Linked DNA regions of Homo sapiens: region 1 is linked to region 2. The links are contacts of gene promoters, found by promoter capture Hi-C in human tissues and cell types (Jung and others, 2019). All regions are on one chromosome and are shown on one strand. The core of a region is centred on a gene start or on the middle of the fragment in contact, and the rest is flanking DNA. Distances in the headings are between cores, read along the strand shown. Region 1 has its middle 260 kb from the start of LRATD1. Region 2 holds the start of DDX1 (DEAD-box helicase 1).

What was found. The method cuts DNA at HindIII sites, captures the fragments that hold promoters and counts their contacts. A contact is called where the count stands out against the background at its distance.
Region 1: a contact is called between a fragment that was not itself captured here and the fragment with the promoter of DDX1 in region 2, in 1 of the 25 tissues and cell types used here (lymphoblastoid cells).

The regions. Positions count from the first base shown.
Region 1 is chr2:14,891,373-14,897,686 of GRCh38, reverse strand. It overlaps a transcript of NBAS not described here. Among named protein-coding and RNA genes, the nearest start is that of LRATD1, 260 kb to the right of the region's middle. The HindIII fragment of the contact is 3,958 bases long and covers 1,085-5,042 here.
Region 2 is chr2:15,588,974-15,595,006 of GRCh38, reverse strand. DDX1 (DEAD-box helicase 1) reads right to left here and starts at 3,139. Exons shown (of 26, transcript NM_004939.3): 1 at 3,058-3,139. The coding sequence starts at 3,073. It overlaps LOC124905975 (a long non-coding RNA gene), which reads left to right and starts at 3,238. Exons shown (of 2, transcript XR_007086224.1): 1 at 3,238-3,547; 2 at 3,675-6,033. RefSeq lists an enhancer at 3,041-3,100. The HindIII fragment of the contact is 10,803 bases long and covers 1-6,033 here.

The DNA of each region.
Region 1 (6,314 bases), core at 1,814-4,313, 700 kb after region 2:
AGCTGATGTGCTGAGATGCTGGTGCACACTCCCTGGCCAATATTGTGTGCTGTCTTTGGAAAAAAAAAAAAAAGCCAAATGTAGAAACACATTTCTGAATTAGTACTTCCTCAACCAAAATTATTCTGAAGCTATAGGGGCATTAGACCAGGGTGAAGACAAGAGAGAGGACAATCAATATTTCATTATAACGTCCTTGGGGTTTACAAAGCAATGGATATGGGAGAGGGGAAGCTTTTGAGAAGAAAAATGGTGCATATAAATGGCTTGGTAAAATAAGTGTTTTCACATTTTACCTAGAGAAAAACACAGTATACATTTTAGCAGAGAAAAGTGGATATTTAAATAATTTATCAAACTTCTCTCCTTAGGGGAAATGCCTAGAAGTAACATCTCCATAGCGCTCTAAAAAGGAATACATTTTTAGTTTTGATAAGGAGAAAAGCACCAAAAATAAGAAAGGCAGGAAAAGACAGCTGTGAAAATACTGAAGCAGGAATCAGGAGACCTGTGTTTGGTTCCAGCTTTGCCACCTGCTCGCTGTGTGATACTGGGCAAATTTCTTCCTTCTTCCTGGAGGCCTTCGTTTTTCCCATGTGTAAAATGATGGAAAAAAAAAAAAAGAGGAACGGCTCAGGCTTTTAGGGGCTCACGAATTACTGCTCCCCTCCCCTGACAGCCACAGAAGCTCCTGAGATATTTCCATGCAGCTCTAGTAGGGGCCTCCAACTAGGACTTGCGAATCTCTGAACTAGAGGCTCTTCTTTTGCATTCAGGTTATGTGATCAAATGTTATGCAAATTTTTAACAAAAAGTAGAATATTTACATTAAAATGCTTATACATTATCAACAGAGACATTATGGTAAATGAACAATAGTTGTTCACGGTGATTTGTTCCCCAGCTGTTAAATACCAGCTTCTTCTTTGCAATGGCCTGCAGACTTCTTCACTCACTGGCCTGGGCTCCCTGTCTTCTGTACCCTTAACGAGGCCCTCAAAGTCCAGAAAGAAGGCGGTAGCAGCTGCAGTACTGATGTACAGTCAGTGCTCCTGGTTTTGCAGGGCTATGATTACAACACAAAATCTCAGGGAAAAAAAAAATGGCAAGAGAACTCTGCAGTGTGTTTCTTAGCAGCTAATTGGTTCCTTGCGCTTAGGATCGGCTTCCAGATTTATGCTATGGAGCCATTCCCCCCATAACACGGAGGAAGGAAGATTTGTTCAGTGTGGGGGCGTAGGAGGGAGAATGACTAAGGGAAAAATTAAATTGCTGTGAGAAACAGAATAAAACCGCTCTTAAATTTCAAGCAGTCAATTATCAAATTTGAAAAAGGCTTAATACACATACTAGTTTGGCATTTGGAATACAATGAACATTGATATTATTAATACATTACATAGCGTATTGGCTGAGCTGAAGAAAGGCCTCTAATATTTTGAGGGCAAAGTGAGGCTCTACTGCCTTTCCTGCTTGTGTTAAAGAGCCTCCCTGGAAACTGGGCCAGTGGACTACTGAGATTGAGAAATAGGGGCCGATTCAGGTAATTTGTACTACGTGGTTATGGGCTCTCTTCTCCCGGATTAATTTTGTTGTTTTGTTCATGGTTGCCTGACAAAGGAAAGCAGAGATTCTTAGTTTTCTTATTCTGTATTTTAAACATTTATCTTCGTTTTTTTTTCCCCTTTATAGTCTCAGGAGGTAACACGTGCAGGTTTGTTTCATAGATATATTGTGTCATGGTGAGGTTTGGGCTTCTAGTGTGCCCATCACCTGAATAGTTAATATTGTACCAAGTAGGTAATTCTTCAGTCCTTACCCGTCATCTTCCCTCTCCCCTTTTGATGTCCTCAGTGTTTATTATTACCCTCGTGTATCCAAGCGTACCCATTCTGTAGGTTGTCTGTTGATTATTTCTTTTTCTTTGCAGAAGCTTTTTTTTTTTTTGAGACGGAGTCTCGCTCTGTCACCCAGGCTGGAGTGCGGTGGCGCGATCTCAGCTCACTGCAAGCTCCACCTCCCGGGTTCACGCCATTCTCCTGCCTCAGCCTCCCCAAGTAGCTGGGACTACAGGCGCCCGCTACCACACCCGGCTAATTTTTTTGTATTTTTAGTGGAGATGGGGTTTCACCGTGTTAGCCAGGATGGTCTCCATCTCCTGACCTTGTGATCCACCCGCCTTTTCCTCCCAAAGTGCTGGGATTACAGGCGTGAGCCACAGTGCCCTGCCTGTGCAGAAGCTTTTTAGTTTAAGTCTCATTTGTCTATTTTTGTTTTCGTTGCATTTGCTTTTGAGGTCTTAATCATAAATTCTTTGACTCGTCCAATGTCTAGAAGAGTTTTTTTTCTAGGTTTTCTTCTAGGATTTTTATAAGTAAATATTTACCTTCTTGTCAAAGTAATATATTCACATAGTTTAAAAAGTCAAATAGAATAATAAGACTTATTACACAACCACAACAACAACACAACAGTTATCTGTCCCTCTCTTCTACACACCTGGATCCTTCCCTCTCTTTATACACCTGGATCCTGCTTCCTAGAATAAACTTCTTTCAGTTTTGTGAGCTTCTGGTATTTACCTCCTAATTCCCAAATAATATGGTTATTATGCCTTTTTGTTTTTGTTTTTGAGTTGGAGTCTCGCTCTGTCACCAGGCTGGAGTGCAGTGACGTGATCTCAGCTCACTGCAACCTTTGCCTTCCGGATTCAAGTGATTCTCCTGCCTCAGCCTCCCGAGTACCTGGGACCATAGGCGCTTCACCACGCCCAACTAATTTTTGTATTTTTTGGTAGAGACGGAGTTTCACCATGTTAGCCAGTATGGTCTCGATCTCTTGACCTCGTGATCCGCCCACCTCAGCCTCCCAAAGTGCTGGGATTACAGGCATGAGCCACCGTGCCCGGCCTATTATGCCAGTTTTTGATTTATCAATTTATATTTTGTGCATTGATGTTCTGCTGTGGAATTAAGGACTTAGAGTCCTTGTGACCCCTCTCAACGCTTATTCATTCTCTCCTCCTTCCCTTCAATATGGCAGTATTCCAGTTTTTGGTTAAATCAATATTCAGTGTTTATATTACTATGATTATATAAACATTGCTCACAGAGGAGTCATATTATATTTTATATTTATATATATATTTTACATTTCTGTTAGTTAATGATTACTTATTTCTTTCATTTGCATGGCTATCATGGTATCTAGCACTCATATTTTTTCAAACTCTTCAAAATACCCTATAAATCTTCTGTCAATGCAGTCAAACATATCAGATAAGATATCAGTTCCAGGTTTCTATATTTTGTTATTAAAAACATCCTCTTGGTGCCCCCCTGTACTCCTGCTCCATTCTGGATTGCATCACTGGCATCTGAAAACTTCCTTTCCAATCATCGGGAAGCCTCTGCCTCCTGCCTGTTGGATCCCCTGTTTTCTGGATCTCACATATTCTTTCTTGGTTTACTCTCTCATCTTGATGGAGCACATTCTTTAGTAGCTTTCTGAGAAGGTATGTATGAAAGCTATGTATTTTTGAGTCTCTGTAAGTCTAAAGGTAACAAAAAATAACACTGATAGAGTCTTAACTTTTGGTAATTAAGAAATATACTCCTAAGTAAGACTTGATACTGGATAAAAGAAGAAATCAATTTTGAAATAATAAGCCATTTACACACAATAAATATTTTGTATCAATCCCAGCAGGAAGCAGAACTCTATTCAGATGGTTCAACAGAATAGATTTTACTAAAGTGATTATTTTCAAAGGTTTGGGCAGAATTAAGGAACATTGCAAAGACTGGCAACAATGGGAAGCTGTTGTCACCCCTAAGCTTGAAGGGACAAGGTGAGTAAATCATGCTAGAGGAATACAGTGTGCACTGGATGAGATGGTACCTGGAAGAAATGTAGCAATTAACACTGCAAAAACTGCTAGGATGGACTGGGGTGGGGAGTAGGGCAGAACTCTTTTCTCCTGTTCTCTGATTTCCCACGGCTGCCTTCCATTGGCCAAAATCCACTGAAAGTTATTCAGCAAGAGAACCGAGGTGATACAGTCCATGAAGGAAGGGTTCCAGGAGCACAGAGTAGAACAGAAAAAGGTAAGAATGAGTCTAGTGAGTACAGATGGAGAAAAACAGCATGTACTTCCTGCCAAAATTGAGATACAGTTAAGAGTGACTTCAAAGGAAAATTTATAGCTGCAAACATATTTGTTTTATAGAAGAAAGACAAAAAGAAAGAAATCCATCTTAAAAATTAGAAAAAGAATTAGAAAATGTAACAAAAACTAGGAAGAAGAAAATATTAAAGATAGAAGTTGAAACAAATAATATAAAAAGCAAAACAATAAGCAGAAAGGACAAATAAATCCAAAAGCAGTTTTCTTGAAAAGACAAAAAAATTAGATCATGGTCTTCAAAAATCTGATGAAGGAAAAGAGGGAATAAAAATGTTTGTAATTAGAAATGAAAAGGTGACAGTCACATGTACATGCAACTTCATTGCCTGAAAACATGCAACTTTATTTTCTTACAAAATGTAAATGACCAAAACTGACTCAAGAACAAGTAGAAAAGCTGAAGAATCCAACTACTGTAAAAAACAGAAGATTAATAATCAATAAATATTTAAAAACATTATGAAGCAATGGTTTCACAGCTGAGTTTTAGCTAACCATTAGAGAACAGGTGAGTCTAATATTAAGTAAATTATTCTAGGCTTTAGAGAAAGATTTCTTTGATTCACTTAAGCAAATGTGGTCTAATCCTGTAAGGAAGGACAAAGAATAAAATAAAATAAAAGGAAATAGGAGACTAATGTTAGGAATAAACTTGCTACAAGTCTAAATAAGATGATAAAAATCGAATCCAAACAGAGTATTCAAAAAGTAATACACTATGACAAACAGGTTTATCCCAGAAATACAAAGACGATTTGATACCAGAAAAATCCATAAACATAATACGTTAGTTATTATGTCTACAAAATGAAAGAGAAGAAAAAAAAAAAGAGCATATTGATTTAATCAATCGATGCTGAAAAGACCTTTGTTAAAGCTAGGCAGAAATTCCTAAATACGACTAAGTTAACTAGGACTAGAAGAATAGTTAAATTAAATAGCAGCCATAGAGTCGGTATAATATAAACACATCATTGCATAGAAGAGGAAATGGATTTCCTTGGAAGAGAAGCGATTTAAAAAGTATGCAGAAAATTAGTTGTCGGACAGGGAAGAGAACTCAGGTGTCCTACGTGGTCTTGATCTATGTCGCCCTGTGAGCCCATTGTGCCACAGGTGTGGGGACCCAATTTGGTTTATGCTTTGGTCTCAAGTTGCAACATTTTCTTGATGTGACCTTGAGGTTTGCTTGCTTGTTTATTGATCATTGCTGCCTCCTGTCTGCCTTTCTCTTTTTCCTATTTATTCTATATCTCTCTGTGGCCATTGTGTTTGCTGAAGGCTTTACTGTGGGAAAGGAGGACTACTTACAACAGAGCATTGGCTTATGCCTGAGGAATGACTACCAATTCTGCATTCATTTTCTTTAAAAATATTTAGATTGGGTGTCTCCAGGGTTCTGTGTGCCATGCCAGGGAATTAGAGCACATACTGACTGATTAGCTTGCCTCATAATAACAGTGGAAGGAAAAGTCAGTCGCATGTTATAAAAGAGGAAACTGAGGTTTAATGAGATGATGGGTAAGTGGTTTTGGCCAGGAAATAATTGTCAGTGCTGGGATTTGATCTATGTTACTTGAGGACAAGCCCAGTGCTTTTCCTATAACACCACAGCTACCTCTTGTCACCCTGAGAATTTTAGAAAATTGTAGAATGTGGTGAAGGTAAAGTAAGTAAAGCTCCAGATTCTCTTGGTTGAAGGCATGCGCTGTAGTGTCCCAGGCCTTCCATGAGAACTGGATTCTGGACAAGAATCACAGCTGCTCACTGATTGAGGGGAAACGCATGGGCCTGGGAATTCCTTGTTTATATTAATAGTTTTGCTATTTACCAGGTGTGAATGTTTGGACTACTCCATTTGCTCTCCGTCATGCTCAATTTCCTTATTTTTTAAATGGGAATGACAGTATAGATTTCCCAGGTAGTTCTGAGGATTGAGTAAAATTATGTAGGTAAGGTGTCTGGAAAAATGGATGCACTGAGTGATTATAATAAATAAGTAAGTGATCCCTTCCTATGAACTGACGTGATCCATTTGCCTCACACACACTTATTGACAAGCTTCTCTGTGTCAGAATGAGGTACCTATATGTGTAGGGAAATATTAGAAATTAAAATCCGCTTCATG
Region 2 (6,033 bases), core at 1,890-4,389:
TTGAAAGAGCACAAGTTCTGGAGAAAGACCTGAGTTCAAATCTAAGTTCTCACTTATTAGCAAGTGACCTTAGGCAAAGCTATAAATCTGTTTTCTCCACACAAAATGGGGCTGATATTGCCTACCTTGCAGGGCTATATGAAGACCAGAGATAATCATGTAATGCAACTGGAGCATGGTTGTCACCTAATAAACTGTAGCCACTACAGTGCCTGTTTACCTCTCATGACTCGTGAAAAGTCTGCCAAGAATAGACAGGGTTGTTGCATTTAGAGACAATGTGGCAGTTATGTGCCTTGGCTATTCTAGGACCATGTGAATACCCTCAGCAATTGGAAAAAAATGAATAGACAAGTGGCGAGCACCCACATTTATTGGCAGCCATAATCAAAATTCTGAATAACTGAAGAGGGAGGGGTCAGTGGTGAAAACGTGGGCACCTGGAAATGTCAGCTGAAGAACTGCTGAGTTCTTAACTGTATACATATCTCAATAATTCTACTTCAAGGCCCATCCTAAATGAATAGAGATGAGTTGCTCCTAACCGGGTTTTGTCATTTTATCATTTCTCATATGAACTGTAGAGGGTAATTATATATGGAGTAGTTAGTTGGATTACTTAAACTTTCCTTCCAAAAGACAAGTGATTTTTATTTTAAGTCTGTATTTATAAAATATAGCTTTATCATAAAAATATATATTCCTATAAAAAAAAGAACAAGAATCAAACATTCCCAAGCCCCAGAAATAACCAATTCTGAAATTCTGTATTTCTTGCCATTGTGAAAAGGCATAAAGCAAACATACAAACTGAAAATATTCTTCATAAAATTATGTAGCTTTTTCTTTGCATCAGATGAGAAGGATCATCATTTTCAAAGAAGGCTCTCCTAACTCTTTTTCTTTTTTTTCTTTTCTTTTGTTTTTTTTTGAGACAGTCTCACTCTGTCACCCAGGCTGGAGTGTAGGGGCATGATCTCCACTCACTGCAAACTCCGTCTCCCAGATTCAAGCAATTCTCCTGCCTCAGCCTCCCGAGGAGCTGGGGCTACAGGCGCATGCCACCACGCCCGCTAATTTTTTTTCATATTTTTAGTAGAGACGGGGTTTCACTGTGTTAGCCAGGATGGTCTCAATCTCCTGACCTCGTGATCTGCCCACCTTGGACTCCCAAAGTGCTGGGATTACAGGCATAAGCCACTGCACCTGGCGACTTTCCTAGCTCTTAATCTCAGGAAAAAAAAAAGCCACAGATAAACTAATGAAGATCTAAAGTTGAATATCCAGGCAGACCTTCCTAAGAATTAACCTGTATTACAGTCTATGTTCTCTCTCCTAAAATGCAAACTGCTTGAAACAAAGGAGTGGTGTGTTCTTACTGCATACGGAATACTGCAAGCTGAAGCTCTTTGCAAAATTGTTATACAAGAAACAACATATCATTTTCAGTAAATTCCAGACAATCTCTTGTACCATTCTGGTCATGTTCCCTGCAAGTTTTCTTTGAAAGCGGACCTTAAGTATAATACTTTTAACAGTTAAGGAAAAATTAGAAACATTCGTGAAATTCCAGTTTTGTCTTATTTCATATCACAGACTTTTTCCAGTCCTTTACCTCTAACATTCATGAAATTTGTGTATGACTCCCAAAGATGTGAACCTATAAAATGACTACCTAGAACTATCCTACAGACCTTGGCTCTAAAATCGTTTTAGGAGAATGTTGGGAAAAGAAAAACAGCAACAACTCTGAGCAGTTTCCAATTGAATCCTATTAGAAGATGTAACTGAAACAGTCAGAAATCTTACATGACTGTTGCACTTTGGGAAGCCGAGGTGAGCGGATCACCTGAGGTCAGGAGTTCGAGACCAGCCTGGCCAACATGGTGAAACCCCCGTCTCTACTAATAATACAAAAATGAGCAGGGCATGGTGGTAGGCGCCTGTAATCCCAGCTACTCAGGAGGCTGAGGCAGGAGAATTGCTTGAACCTGGGAGGTGGAGGCTGCAGTGAGCCAAGATCACACCATTGCACTCCAGCTGGGGCGACAGAAGGAGACTACATCCCCCCACCCCCCCATTCTCCCCCCCAAAAAAGAAAAAAAATATCTTACATGACTGGAGATATGGAATTCCTAATATTCTTACAGAAGAAAACTAAAAAATATAAAATACTACATCTGAAGTCATCTTAAAAAGTTAATAACATTAAAGGACATTAGGCCTAACGTGATACATTTATATAGCAATAAACGTTACATAAGTGCTACATAAATGTATCACGTTTAGCGCATTTAAGGCTGATTACAGCTTCCTAAAACTGGATGCCTAACAGGAGGATGATAAAGCAAGAGGCGAAAATATCAACTGTAGGGTTCGATAAGCCATATCAAATCATATTTGGAATAAAGGAGGGTAGCAGACGGCAAATAAATATGAATTTTCCAAACTTATGTTGGACTGGTGCGTACGTTAATGAAAATGCTTTCCCTTTAGCTTCAACACTGAACATTAATGTTGATATAACAACGTTTAAGAACAAATAAAGATCAGGTTTATGCCTGGGACGTTTTGGAAGGGCCTGAAAAAACTGGACAGAGGCAGGATCGTCATTTTTCCCCAATGACTCCTCCCCACGCCGTCTCGCCTCTCTGCCTGGCCAAGCCCAGATGAGCCGCGGGCAGAAAAGGGTTCCCAAAGGGTCACTGCCACGTTAAGAGGCAGGAGGCCCAGGCGTCTGGGAGCCGCCAGAGCAACGCCGCCGCCTAGATTTTGCAGCCGAAGGTGCACTGGCAGGAAAGCCAAGTGGAGACTGGTAGAAGGGAAAGGGCAGGGGGAGGGACGTTCCGGCCCGCTCCTGGGAAGAATCGTCCTCCGAACCCGAGCCGCGGCCGCCCCTGATCCCGCAACGCGGGTCCATCAGGGACTGCAGCGGACAGCGCCCTTCTGTCTCCCTGACCCCTGTCCGCTCCCGCCCCTTTAGCTCTCCGCGGGCGGCCCCAGGGCTGAGGCGTGCAACAAGCCGCCCCACCACCCCCAGAGTTTCCACAAACGCACCGGAGAAGGCCGCCATCTTCACCCCGTCCTCCGCGGCTTCGCCTGCTCGCTCCCTCCCTCCCGACTGACACGGCGTGGCAGTGGCGGCGCGCGCTTCCGGCCCCTGGTCTTCGGCGTTCGGAGTCCGGGCAGGGACTCAGCCCCGGGAGAACGGTTCCGATGGAAGGAAAGGCCCGCGCCGGCCCCGCCTTATGCGCCTGCCGCTGAGCGGACCTCTGGGACCTAGGGCTTCTGGACGCCGCCTTCGTTCTGGGCACCATGTGTTCGGAGCACACCACGCGGTATCAGGGTCACAGCTACAGAGAAGGAAGCAGATGTTTGGTGATTAGGGTCATCCAGTGGGCTCAGGCTGACACCACACCGTGCCCTCCCCACTCAGTCCCCCAGCTTTCCAAAGGTGAGCAGGGCCTTGGTGTGTGAATGACCCGGAGAGATGGACTGGATTCATTGCCCTGAGCACCAATGCCAGTGAGTGCCTGGCAGCCAGTAGGTATTTGTTACATTTTTTTTTTAAACTAAGTAATGATTTAGGTCTCCCTCCCTTCACCCATGTTTGATGTCGCTTTTATAATTTCGGGTTTGACTTCCATGCAATTTTAACTCCTTTCTCTTTGCAGAGAGATGGGGAAAGTAAATGAGGAATCCTCCCAACCAGACACTCACTCTGTCAGGAAGGTATTAGAATCTTTAGATGAGGACTCTAAAATTCGGGAAAGTTAAGTCACTTATCTAAAGACACATATCTACCGAATGGCAGCGTGGGATCTGAGCCACATCTGCGCAATGCGAGGGCGCGTGCTGTGCTATCTGTAGCCTGCCCCAGAGTGTCATGGAGAAAAGTGGAACCCTCAGGCAAGATAGAATAGGGTTGCAGCGGCCGGGCGCGGGGGCTCACGCCTGTAATCCCAGCACTTTGGGAGGCCGAGGCAGGCGGATCACGAAGTCAGGAGGTCGAGACCATCCTAGCTAACACGGTGAAACCCCTTCTCTACAAAAAATACACACACACACACACACACACACACACACAGAAGAAGCCGGGTGTGGTGGTGCATGCCTGTAGTCCCAGCTACTCGGGAGGCTGAGGCAGGAGAATCGCTTGAACCCAGGAGGCGAAGGTTGCAGTGAGCCGAGATCGCGCCACTGCACTCCAGCCTGGGTGACCGAGCGAGACTCCGTCTCAAAAAAAAAAAAAAAGAAAAAAGAATAGGGTTGCAGCTACTCCGGAGGCTGAGGCATGAGAATCACATGAACCTGGGAGGCGAAAGCTGCAGTGAGCTGAGATCGTGCCACTACACTCTAGCCTGGGCGACAGAGGGAGAGTCTGTCTCAAAAAAATAAAAAATAAAAAAGATAGAATAGGGTTAGAAGTACAGAGTTGGGAACCATATTCTGAGTTTGGATTCTAGGTCTGCCACTTGCTTGCTGTGTGACCTTGAACAAGTCATGAAGCTTCTTTGGGCTTCAGTTTACTTACCTGTGAAATAGGGATGAACAATAGTACCTTTCTCATATGATAGTTATGAGGATCAAATAAAATACATAAAGCATCTAAAATAGTGCATAGCACATGGTGACAATATAACTAGCTCTGTTATTACTATTACATGTAACAGGATTCACCTGAAGCTCCAAAGGCCCAGGACAATACACTCAGCCCTGCAGCTTTACACTTCCAGGGGGCACTATTCACATTATATTCTCTATTCTTGTTATATTTTGTCTAAATAAGACCCTGAGAGTTATGCAGTGTACCAGTTTTGAATGGATACCAAGTACCCCCACATTCCAAGGAGAGATACAAGACCCATATTATGCAGGACTTGCCAAAGGGAAATCTGAAATCTAATTTTTGTGCCTTTTGCCAATGCCCACCTTTAAAGTGTGAAAAATCGGCTGGGCATGATGGCTCATGTCTATAATCCCAACACCTTGGGAGGCTGAGGCAAGGGGATCACTTGAGCCCAGAAGTTCAAGACCAGCCTGGGCAACATAATGAGACCCCCATCTCCAAAAAAAATTAAAAAATAGTTGGGCATGGTGCACACCTGTAGTCTCAGCTACTTGGGAGGCTGAGGTGGGAGGATCTCTTGAGCCTAGGAGGTGGAGGCTGCAGTGAGCTATGATGGTGTCACTGTACTCCAGCCTGGGTGGCAGAGCAAGACCCTGTCTCAAGGAAGAGATAAAGTATGAAAAAATTAAAGATGCAAATTAAGAGAAAAGATTTCTGTGAAAAGAATGCATTTCAGGGAAATACTCTGAGAACTTTTGATCTGAGAGTTTGGGAAGCGTAAGGACTGCTCTGAGAAGCCGTCCCTAGGAGGACCTGAGGTGGCAGGGCAGAAAAAGAGACAGAGAGAAGGAGAGAGAAGCCTGCTGCAGGAGTTAACTGTGGGGGAATCGTGTGACATTTTTTCCCCAAGGGATAAATAGATCTGTGGAGAGTGGACTGGAAGTTTTCTTCAAAGGGAATGTGCCCAAGAGACTTCCCGGAGGAGCTAAATGATTCAGCACACAGACCCCCCAAAGAACGCAGTGGCATCCTTACCTTCCAAACTGGAGAAGAGATATCTCTTGTCTCATGGGAGTTGCATGTGGAGGATGCCAGCAAGGAGAATCTCCAAGATACCACAAAAAGTTCCCTCTAAGAGAAACAATCAGCCTTGAGCATGTCTAAGCCAGAAAGCACCAGAATCAGATCACCATAAACCCAGCCAGATAAAGGTGTGTACCCACCCGCCACCCCATCCCCTAGACTTTATCCTTCCCAGGAGTCAGAAACAACAGCTAATGGGAGAGGCGAGTACAGAAAAGAGACTGACCCCATCCTCCATCCCACTGCAGGCTTCTGGCGTGGAATAGGCCAAGCAGGAAGAGGAGGAAGCCATGATGTTGGTTGAAGTTGTGAATTTCAATCACGATCCTGGACATGATAGTTTACAGAAACGAGGGTATAATTAGATGAAAGTAACCAGA